Linked DNA regions of Homo sapiens: regions 1 and 3 are each linked to region 2. The links are contacts of gene promoters, found by promoter capture Hi-C in blood cells and fetal thymus (Javierre and others, 2016). All regions are on one chromosome and are shown on one strand. The core of a region is centred on a gene start or on the middle of the fragment in contact, and the rest is flanking DNA. Distances in the headings are between cores, read along the strand shown.

Region 1 (2,700 bases), core at 2-2,501, 2.1 Mb before region 2:
CTCCCCAATCACCCACCCTAGGTGCTTTGACAGGCAATTCGCGCTGTCTGGCACGCAGAAGCAGACGCCAAAATAAAAACAAAAACAAATTTTAAAAAAAAATTTGTTAAAAAGAAGGGGTTAGACTGGGCCCAAAGTTCTCCCCTCTCCCCCAAAGATCCACGAAGTGACCATTTCTCCGCGCCCCTGGGTCCCCACTCTCTCCCGTAAAAAGCCAGCTCACGCACCCTGCAGCGCTGCCAAGATCCCCACGATGCCTGTCCCCGCACCCAGTTCGATCACCTTCTTGCCTCGGAAATCCACATTTTGACTCTCGAAATAATTGCACAGGCTCAGGGCCTACGGGAGAAAAGACAGAGAAAAAGACAGTCGTGAGGATGGCTCCATATGGGAGAGGCGGAGTCCGGGATCTGGACCTCCCACGGACCCTCACCCGGCGCAGCCCATTCCTCACCGCGTCCCACACGCGCGCCGCCACCCCGAGGCGGGACCCAAAGTTCTGCGTGATGGTCAGCACATGCCCACAGAAACAGAACTGGCTCTTCTCCGAGTAAGAGTCTGCAAAGAGCCCGACCTCCCGCGGGAACACCGATTCCGACTCAGATTCGGGATCTGGGCCGGGGTCCGCCATCCGGCCCGCCAAGGGAGTGCCTGGGCACCGCGGCCGGCGCTCAGATCCCGGATCCGGAGCGGGGTAGAGGCTGGGGGCCGCGAGCCGTCGTGGTGTCCCTGTGGAACGAGCCCCGCCTCCCTGAGTTTGCCCTCCTTCCTCCAGTTCGATTTCCTGGAGGTGGAATGAGGAGCTGCCCCTCCCGCCCCGGCCCCGAGCGCACACTCGACGAAACCCACACGGGACCACAAGAGTCAGACCGGGCGGACTGGTCCGAGACCAGGAGTAAGGGGACAGGAGCGAGGACTGATGCCACTGTAGAAGGCGAGGTCTCTAGACCCCTCTCACCTGTGGGGTGCACAGGTGCCTGCAACCAGGATGGTAACCCAGACCAGGCAGAAGCAAGCTAAGAGAAAACGTTGGGTCCCTGGGCCTGGCCTCGCCCTCCCAGTTGGAGGCTAACGGTGCGGAGGTTCCCTCCAGCACTCGCTCCTTACAGCCCTCCCCACCTAGCCCAGCCCAGCCCAGCCCAGCCCAGCTGAATTTGCTCTTGGGTCTTTAAGGGGCGGGAACTGCCACCAACGCGCATGGCTGCGTCATTAACTTGCGCCTCTGGCCTGCGCCTCCACGTGGATTTGGTAGAGAAACCCCGGACTGGGATCATGGCAGCCGAGACTCGGAACGTGGCCGGAGCAGAGGCCCCACCGCCCCAGAAGCGCTACTACCGGCAACGTGCTCACTCCAACCCCATGGCGGACCACACGCTGCGCTAGTGAGGAGTGGGCAGAGGGAGAGAGAGGAGGGCGGGATTCTCAAAGCAGCCGGGAGAGCAGTTGTGCTGCAACTGCTGGGAGGATTTGGGGTAGACCCGGGAGGATCAGATGGGTGACGTCAGTTTTTGGGGGTGGGACCGGGAGATTCGACCGAGAGAGGAGTTGGCGGGTTGAGAGTGGGCGTGGCGTTCGGGCCTAAGTCTGGGTAGCGGTGCTAAGTTTGGGAAGAGAAATAAATTGTTACTGAGACTGAAGTGATAGAGGCAGAATGTCGTTTCCATCTTTTGCTTTTGTTTGTTGGATTTAATAAAAAGGCAAACATATACACAATCCTGCCCGCACCTTACCTTACCTTCCCTCCCCGCAGAGCACAAACACAAAGTAGGATCCCAGTGCATTAGGCAGCCAGTCTCGGGAGAAGGGGAACTTGTGCCCCAGAAAGGGCAGTTACCCGGCCAGGGTCACATCAACCGCCAGAAGTGGAGTTGGGCAGGTCAGCGTTTATGGGCCTCATGATGGTCCTATGATTCACACTGGGAGTTAAGGGTGGTTTCCATTGTCCCTCTTAGAGGCCACAGGGCCCAGTGTTACAGAATTTTTGAGAAACCCTCCTCCCTTTTACCTCCCACCCTCACCCACCCACACACTCTCACAGTACCACTTCTGCAATGGTGTGACCAACCTTCTCATGCTTCTTATGTCTTCTTTCCAATAGCCCTGTGAAGCCAGAGGAGATGGACTGGTCTGAGCTATACCCAGAGTTCTTCGCTCCACTCACTCAAAATCAGAGCCACGATGACCCAAAGGATAAGAAAGAAAAGAGAGCTCAGGCCCAAGTGGAGTTTGCAGACATAGGCTGTGGCTATGGTGGCCTGTTAGGTAACACTCAGGCCCTCTTTTTGGGGTGAGAAGAGGCCTAGTAGCTTCTGCTGCCTCAGCAACTTTTGTGGGGGGTCATAATTGGCCTTTCCCCTTTCGTCCAGACACTGGTGACATCAGCATGGAGAGGCTCCACCTACCCTCTACTCTGGGTCTGTGACCTTTGCCCTGGAGAGTGGAGGGGGCTGCCTCAAATGCTTCTTAAAACCTGGGTTGTCCTTTCTGGCGTCAATCCCTACATGAGCCATTTCATCTGCCAGGTTCCGGGTCAGTGAGCTGGTCAGCACAAGCATCAGAGATTAGCCGTTGTGGCCAGTGATCCTGAACTGTCTTTTCTCAGAGATTCTACCATCTCCCCTCCCCTTTGCCCCTCCCTCGCCAGATCTCATTCCTTCTGCCCCACTCTCCTGTTTTTTGGGTTCCTCTTGTATTGTCTGT
Region 2 (2,700 bases), core at 6-2,505:
CACAGAGAAACGGAGGCTTGTGTTTTATTCAAGGCTTGTCAGCCTCCCTCCTTCCCCCTGCGGGTGAGGTAGGAGGGATAGGGTTGGGGGAGGGAACAGGGGCTAGGAAGGGGCAGACTGCAGCTGCCCTTTGTAGACATATTCCAGTGCAGTGGCAATGGTGCGCATGTCCAGCTCGATGCTCCGAGCCCAGTTCTCCACATCCCCAATTTCCTGGGAAGGGGGAGAGGAGGTGGGAGCCCAGGAATCAGAATGGGTAGAGTATGGCTTCCAGTCTGGGGAATACGTTTTATTCATCTCCTGGAAAAGGCTTTACTTGGACCCACCAACTGCTTTTCTTTCTTTCTCTACCTTTTCTGACACTGGGGCTATAGATGGGGTTTCTGGGACCACCCTACTTCCTCCTTAACCTAAACCTGAGGTAACCTGACTGGAGGCAGCCAATGGGGGCCCAGGATTGGGGTGGTGAGGTAGGGAGTATGGCCCACCTTGAGTGCCTGGTTGAAGTTCTCCACCATTCCGATCCACTGGCCTGTCTGCTTGGCAAATTGGGCAGCCTGGACCTGTAGGGTCTTCACCTCATGGTCCAGCTTTCTCTGGTTCATGTAGGCCTGGGCCACACTGGGGGGTTGGAGGAGGGAGGAGATCAGCTCCAGCTAGTTGGGGGTGGTCTCCGGGACTAATATTCCATTGCAGCAGTGGGAGTTCAGCCAAGAATCAGGGCTCATAATTTTGGCCATTTTTGGATGTGATGCAAATGACTACCAGTACATGCAAATAAACCCAGCTCCTTCCTTTCACTCCCAGGATTCCCAGGAGAGCCAAGCTCGGAGCTGACTAGAAACATACCAGCTCCAAACCCCAAAAAGGAGTTCCTGCAGCTGAGTGGGGGAAGGGAGGGAAAACCTGGGGTGATATCCCTGAGGAAAAAGCTGGGAGGGAAAAAGGGGCATGGAAAAACTGGGAAAATCCAGCAGGAGGAACACATCTGGCAGTGATTGGAAGCCTAGGGATCTATGCAAGAAGTTGGAGAGGGAAATTGGGCCCCTCCCTGAAGCCGGGTTAGGATGGGAGTACAAACCCCCTCCCCAGGAACCCTGGGTCAAAAGAGGGTATCCCAGGGGTTTCTTCTCGGCTCTCAGTTGCTCTCCCAAGCCTTCGCTTTTGCCCACACAGATCAAGGAACACACACAAACACACACACACACACACACACACATGCTCTCCCTCCCTTCTGCCTTAGGCACTAGTTTTTCTTTTCAATCAAGGTATGGGCTGTGGTTACCATTACTACCATGGGGTTGGTGTCCCCAACCTTCTGCCAGTGTTTTTTGCCCTCCCCAACCCCTGCAATAATTGTTCTCCTTTATTGGCTGTTGAATTTTTCACTTCCCACCCCAGAGCTCTACTCAGCCAGGAGATTCCACATCCGGTGCCCCCACCCACTGGAATGTGTGGGGGCTGGAGCGGGGAAGGGGTTGGTGGGGGCTGAGGGAGTGGGCAGGACACCTGACAGGGGCCAAGATAGACTGAGCCTTTGTTTTCCTTTCCGGGGAATGAGAGGAGGCGTGGGCAGCAACACAAAACCCTTTCTAATCTGGCTTTGGCTTAGCTGCCCTCTAAGCTGAAAGTGGGGTGGCATCTAGCAAAGGAAAAGAAGAGGGAAAGGCCTGGGCCAATCTCACAAATGATGGGCACAGCAGAGCCCAGGAGGTGCCAATGTGGGAGGGAGGAAATGGGAGGGCAGACCCTGTTCCTTCTTTTTGGGAGACAGCTGGGTCACTGTCAAGGGTCGGGTAGGAACTGAAACAGACTCCCCTGAGAATTCCTGAACTTCTGGTTTTCCCCATTGACCACCTGCTTCTATATTCACACTGAGTAAAGAGAGCTGCCTGGAGAGAAGGGAGATCAGAGGCCCCAGCCACAACTTTCTTTCTCTCAACCTTCCCCCAAGATGAGTAACAAAGATGACCCCAGCCCCTGCATGGCTCACTTGGATGACTCAGTCTCTGGATTCACACCGAGCTGTTCTACTTGACCTGGGGTGGAAGGTACCATACTGCCTTTCTTCCAATAGGCAGACTAGCAAATCATCATCTCTGCACGCTTCTGGGTCACTTAGGGTCAAGAGACAATGTTCTTTGCTTTTTCCCAAGTCTTTGGCTGTTACTTGCATTCTCATTTAGGGCTGGGGCAGGGTGTGGTCCCTAGAGACCCAATAGGAAGGTAAGAGACAGCCTGGCTCTGCCATAGCTCCCGGAACAGGTTCTACTCTCACCACCACCAGCTCTGCCATCTCTTTCCTGCCAGCTGCTCCCCAGGCTTGCCAGAGGGTGGGAGGCAGAGGAGAGGGTGGTAAGCTGTAATGAAGGAGGGTGCTCTCCCTCCTGCTGAAGTGACAGCTGGACTTGGAAGGGTGAAGGGAGGTGGGCAGATGGCATCAAGTTGTAAATGCCAGGGAAGTTAACGTGGGGAAGGGGAAATCTGGCTGCTTCTCTAACCACGGCAGCTGTTCCTCCCTTGCCCAGTGCTAGGACTCAGAGTTGACTCAAGTTGCTCTACAAAGAGCTGGGAGGGGCGGGGTAGGATAGGGGAATTAGTGGAACATCCCACCCCTTCAACAGCTATTTGAGGGCCAGACTGGCCAGTGCCTAAACTTGGGCGGGGTGGGGAAGGAGGAAACTGATGTTGATAAGAGGT
Region 3 (2,700 bases), core at 23-2,522, 2.1 Mb before region 2:
ACAAAGCTGAAGCTCCTCCGAGAGACCTCCATCCATCTAAAGGAAGCTGGGACTGTGGGGGCAAAAAGAGAGGGGTAGGATGAGGGAGGTAGGGAGGAGGGGCGGAGTCGGGGCCGCCTAAATGGGAGTAAGTCGGTGGGTGTGAGGAAAGCCCAGCACCTCAGGTCTCATTTTCAGTGTTTTGGGGGACACAGTCCCGAGGTCAGTTCCAGCTCTTATACTCTGGAGTCCTAGGTCCGCCCACACGCACACACCCCTTTCGGGATTCGAAGGTTGTACTTTTTTTTTTTTTTTTTTGAGACAGAGTCTCGCTCTGTCGCCCAGGCTGGAGTGCAGTGGCGCGATCTCGGCTACCTGCAATCTCCGCCTCCCGGGTTCAAGCAAGTCTTTGCCTCAGCCTCCCGAGTAGCTGGGATTACAGGCGCCCGCCACCACGCCCGGCTAATTTTTTTGTATTTTTAGTAGAGACGGGGTTTCACCATCTTGGCCAGGCTGGTCTTGAACTCCTGACCTCGTGATCCACCCACCTCGGCCTTCCAAAGTGCTGGGATTACAGGCGTGAGCCACCGCGCCTGGCCTCGACGGTTGTACTTTTATGTGACTTGGTACGTCCTTGATTCTAGGGCTAAGCAGGGGGGTAAGGTAACTTCCGATCCGCCCCATCCCCTGCTGGAGTCAGGTTAGGCTTAGCGGCTTGTCTTGGTCACCCCTGAAGGGGGAAACCTTTCCACCTTCCCCGAGTGCGCCCTCCGAGAAAAGAACACCCCAGCACAGAGCACCAGAACGTGAGCTTCGGAGCGGCCTTTTAAATAGTTGGGAAGGGGGTGTGGCCGAGGAGACTGGGAGGCCGCAGTCTGGCGCGGGGGGAGTGGCCCGGGGGCGTGGCCGTGGCGCCTGGAATGTTGTTAGGTCCTCTCACCGCATAGTAAGGAGGGGCCACGCCCCTTTTCTCCAAGAGAGCCAATCGGAGCACCGGAACGGTTTCAAGTCTCCCCCGCCAGCCTGCCCGCCCGCCACCCCACCCCCCTTGAGGATTCGCTTTTTCCGTAACAAAATAGCAAAGCTCCCGACTGTCCGCAGCCCCGGCCGCTCACAGATGGAGGGTCCCAGGGCCTAGGACGCAGCCCCCAGCGGGAAGCTCCAGCTGGCCGTGAAGAGGCCGAGTCGAGAGCCGGGAGGCGCGCGGGGGTGGGCGCTGCAGCCGCGGGTTGTTTATCTGGAGTACGGAGGGGAGGGGGGAGCCTGGAAACCGCCCCGTGTCCCATTTCCTCCTCTTGTTTTCGCTCCGGATTCTCCATGTTGGACCCAAACTGAGGAGCCCGGAGCTGCCGCTGGGGGATCGGGGCCGGGGGCACCCGGGGGAGCCGCTGCCCGGGCCGCCCGCCCTTTGTACAGGCCGCCTCCCTTCCCGGTCCGGGGAGGAAACGAGAGGGGGGATGTGAACAGCTGTGGAAGTCGGAGTCTCGGGAGCCGGAGCGGGCCCCCGCCCAGGCCCCCCAGCCCAGCCCAGCCCGCGCGCCCGCCCGTCCTCCCGCCCAGCCAGCCCGGGCCCGCGGGATTGTTAGATGGAACACGGCTCCATCATCACCCAGGCGCGGAGGGAAGACGCCCTGGTGCTCACCAAGCAAGGTAGGGGCAGCAACTTCCCAAAACTTTGCGTCGCCCCCGGGCGCGGAGGGGGCTAGCACAGCCCCGAACCCAGGTCTCGGCCCTTGACCTCCAGGGCTTAGAGCCAGCGATCCCGACTGGACCCCTCCGGTCCATCCGCCCCCGCATCCCGGCTGGCACTCAGACCTCCGTGGGGGTTGCACGGGGATCCCGGCGCCCGAGCGGAAAGGGCGTCTTCGGCGCAGCTGTCACCCTGTCCCGCAACCCCTCCCCCTCGGGGCTGAGAGACGGAGGGGTAGCTCTCGAAGCACTGGGCCACTCCGCGTCCACCGCCTCCGGAGTTGGGGGTGGGGTCGTCACTTTCCTTCACCGCCGCGCGCGGCTGCCCCGGGATCGCGGGGAGGGGTTAGGAAGGTGACAGAGGGAGCCCCAGGTGGAACGGAACCGAGACTGGAGTCCAGCACTTGCAGGCCCCCCCAAGCCCGAGGTCGTTCGGGCAGCTAGCTGGCGGTGACGGCGTCCGGCGGGACTTGGGACCAAGTTCACCTCTTGGAGGCGGGGGCGGTCGCGGTGGGGGAGGGGCCCGGGCCCTGGCGCACCAGACGTGGCGGGTTCCCGGCTCAGCGCAGGCCCCGGGACCTTGGCGGCGTCGGGCTCCCTCCCGGCTGCCTCTGACCAGTTTCGCTGAGCAAACAAGCCCGACCCTGAGGCCCGGCCAGAGCCCCTCCCTGCCCGGTGCGCTCCCCCGGGGCCGGCGCTGCACACACAGAGCCGCGTTTGTTTAGCCCGGGAGCGGTGTCCCTGGTTACATAATTCGCCGGATGGCATCAGACCCGGCGTGGTTCTGAATCGCGCAGCGAAAAAGTGCGAGTTCTCTGTGGGCAGCGGCTGGCGGCCCCCGCCTTCCAGAGCGTCAGGTGGAGGCGCGAGGGGGCCCGCAGGCCCTCGCGGGGGTGAGGCGGAGGCCGAGGCCTCTCCCGGGGCGGGAGAAAGCTGGGGCCCGAGGGTGGAACCTCTTAGTTTGGTCACAGTGGGAGACTCGAAACTCTTTCCCCCTCCGCCACGTTCTTCTTTTGGCCTTGAGGAATGTGT

The links. The method cuts DNA at HindIII sites, captures the fragments that hold promoters and counts their contacts. A CHiCAGO score of 5 or more calls a contact.
Region 1: a contact is called between the fragment with the promoter of METTL1 here and a fragment that was not itself captured in region 2, in 1 of 17 cell types (activated CD4 T cells). The highest score is 6.1, in activated CD4 T cells.
Region 3: a contact is called between the fragment with the promoter of CTDSP2 here and a fragment that was not itself captured in region 2, in 3 of 17 cell types (monocytes, non-activated CD4 T cells and activated CD4 T cells). The highest score is 7.5, in monocytes.

Annotation. Positions count from the first base shown.
Region 1 is chr12:57,770,656-57,773,355 of GRCh38, reverse strand. It overlaps METTL1 (methyltransferase 1, tRNA methylguanosine), which reads left to right and starts at 1,251. Exons shown (of 6, transcript NM_005371.6): 1 at 1,251-1,382; 2 at 2,099-2,262. The coding sequence starts at 1,273. EEF1AKMT3 (EEF1A lysine methyltransferase 3) reads right to left here and starts at 742. Exons shown (of 3, transcript NM_015433.3): 1 at 455-742; 2 at 228-339. The coding sequence starts at 631. RefSeq lists enhancers at 578-1,087, 1,218-1,507, 1,193-2,392. The HindIII fragment of the contact is 5,954 bases long and covers 1-2,700 here.
Region 2 is chr12:55,717,012-55,719,711 of GRCh38, reverse strand. BLOC1S1 (biogenesis of lysosomal organelles complex 1 subunit 1) reads right to left here. Exons shown (of 4, transcript NM_001487.4): 3 at 489-621; 4 at 9-213. The coding sequence ends at 103. BLOC1S1-RDH5 (BLOC1S1-RDH5 readthrough) reads right to left here. Exons shown (of 6, transcript NR_037658.1): 3 at 489-621. Among named protein-coding and RNA genes, the nearest start is that of RDH5, 2.0 kb to the left of the region's middle. RefSeq lists enhancers at 1,452-1,611, 1,722-1,771, 1,872-2,031. The HindIII fragment of the contact is 2,957 bases long and covers 1-2,700 here.
Region 3 is chr12:57,845,301-57,848,000 of GRCh38, reverse strand. CTDSP2 (CTD small phosphatase 2) reads left to right here and starts at 1,272. Exons shown (of 8, transcript NM_005730.4): 1 at 1,272-1,629. The coding sequence starts at 1,566. RefSeq lists silencers at 791-970, 1,041-1,120, 1,131-1,560, 2,151-2,450. The HindIII fragment of the contact is 5,566 bases long and covers 1-2,700 here.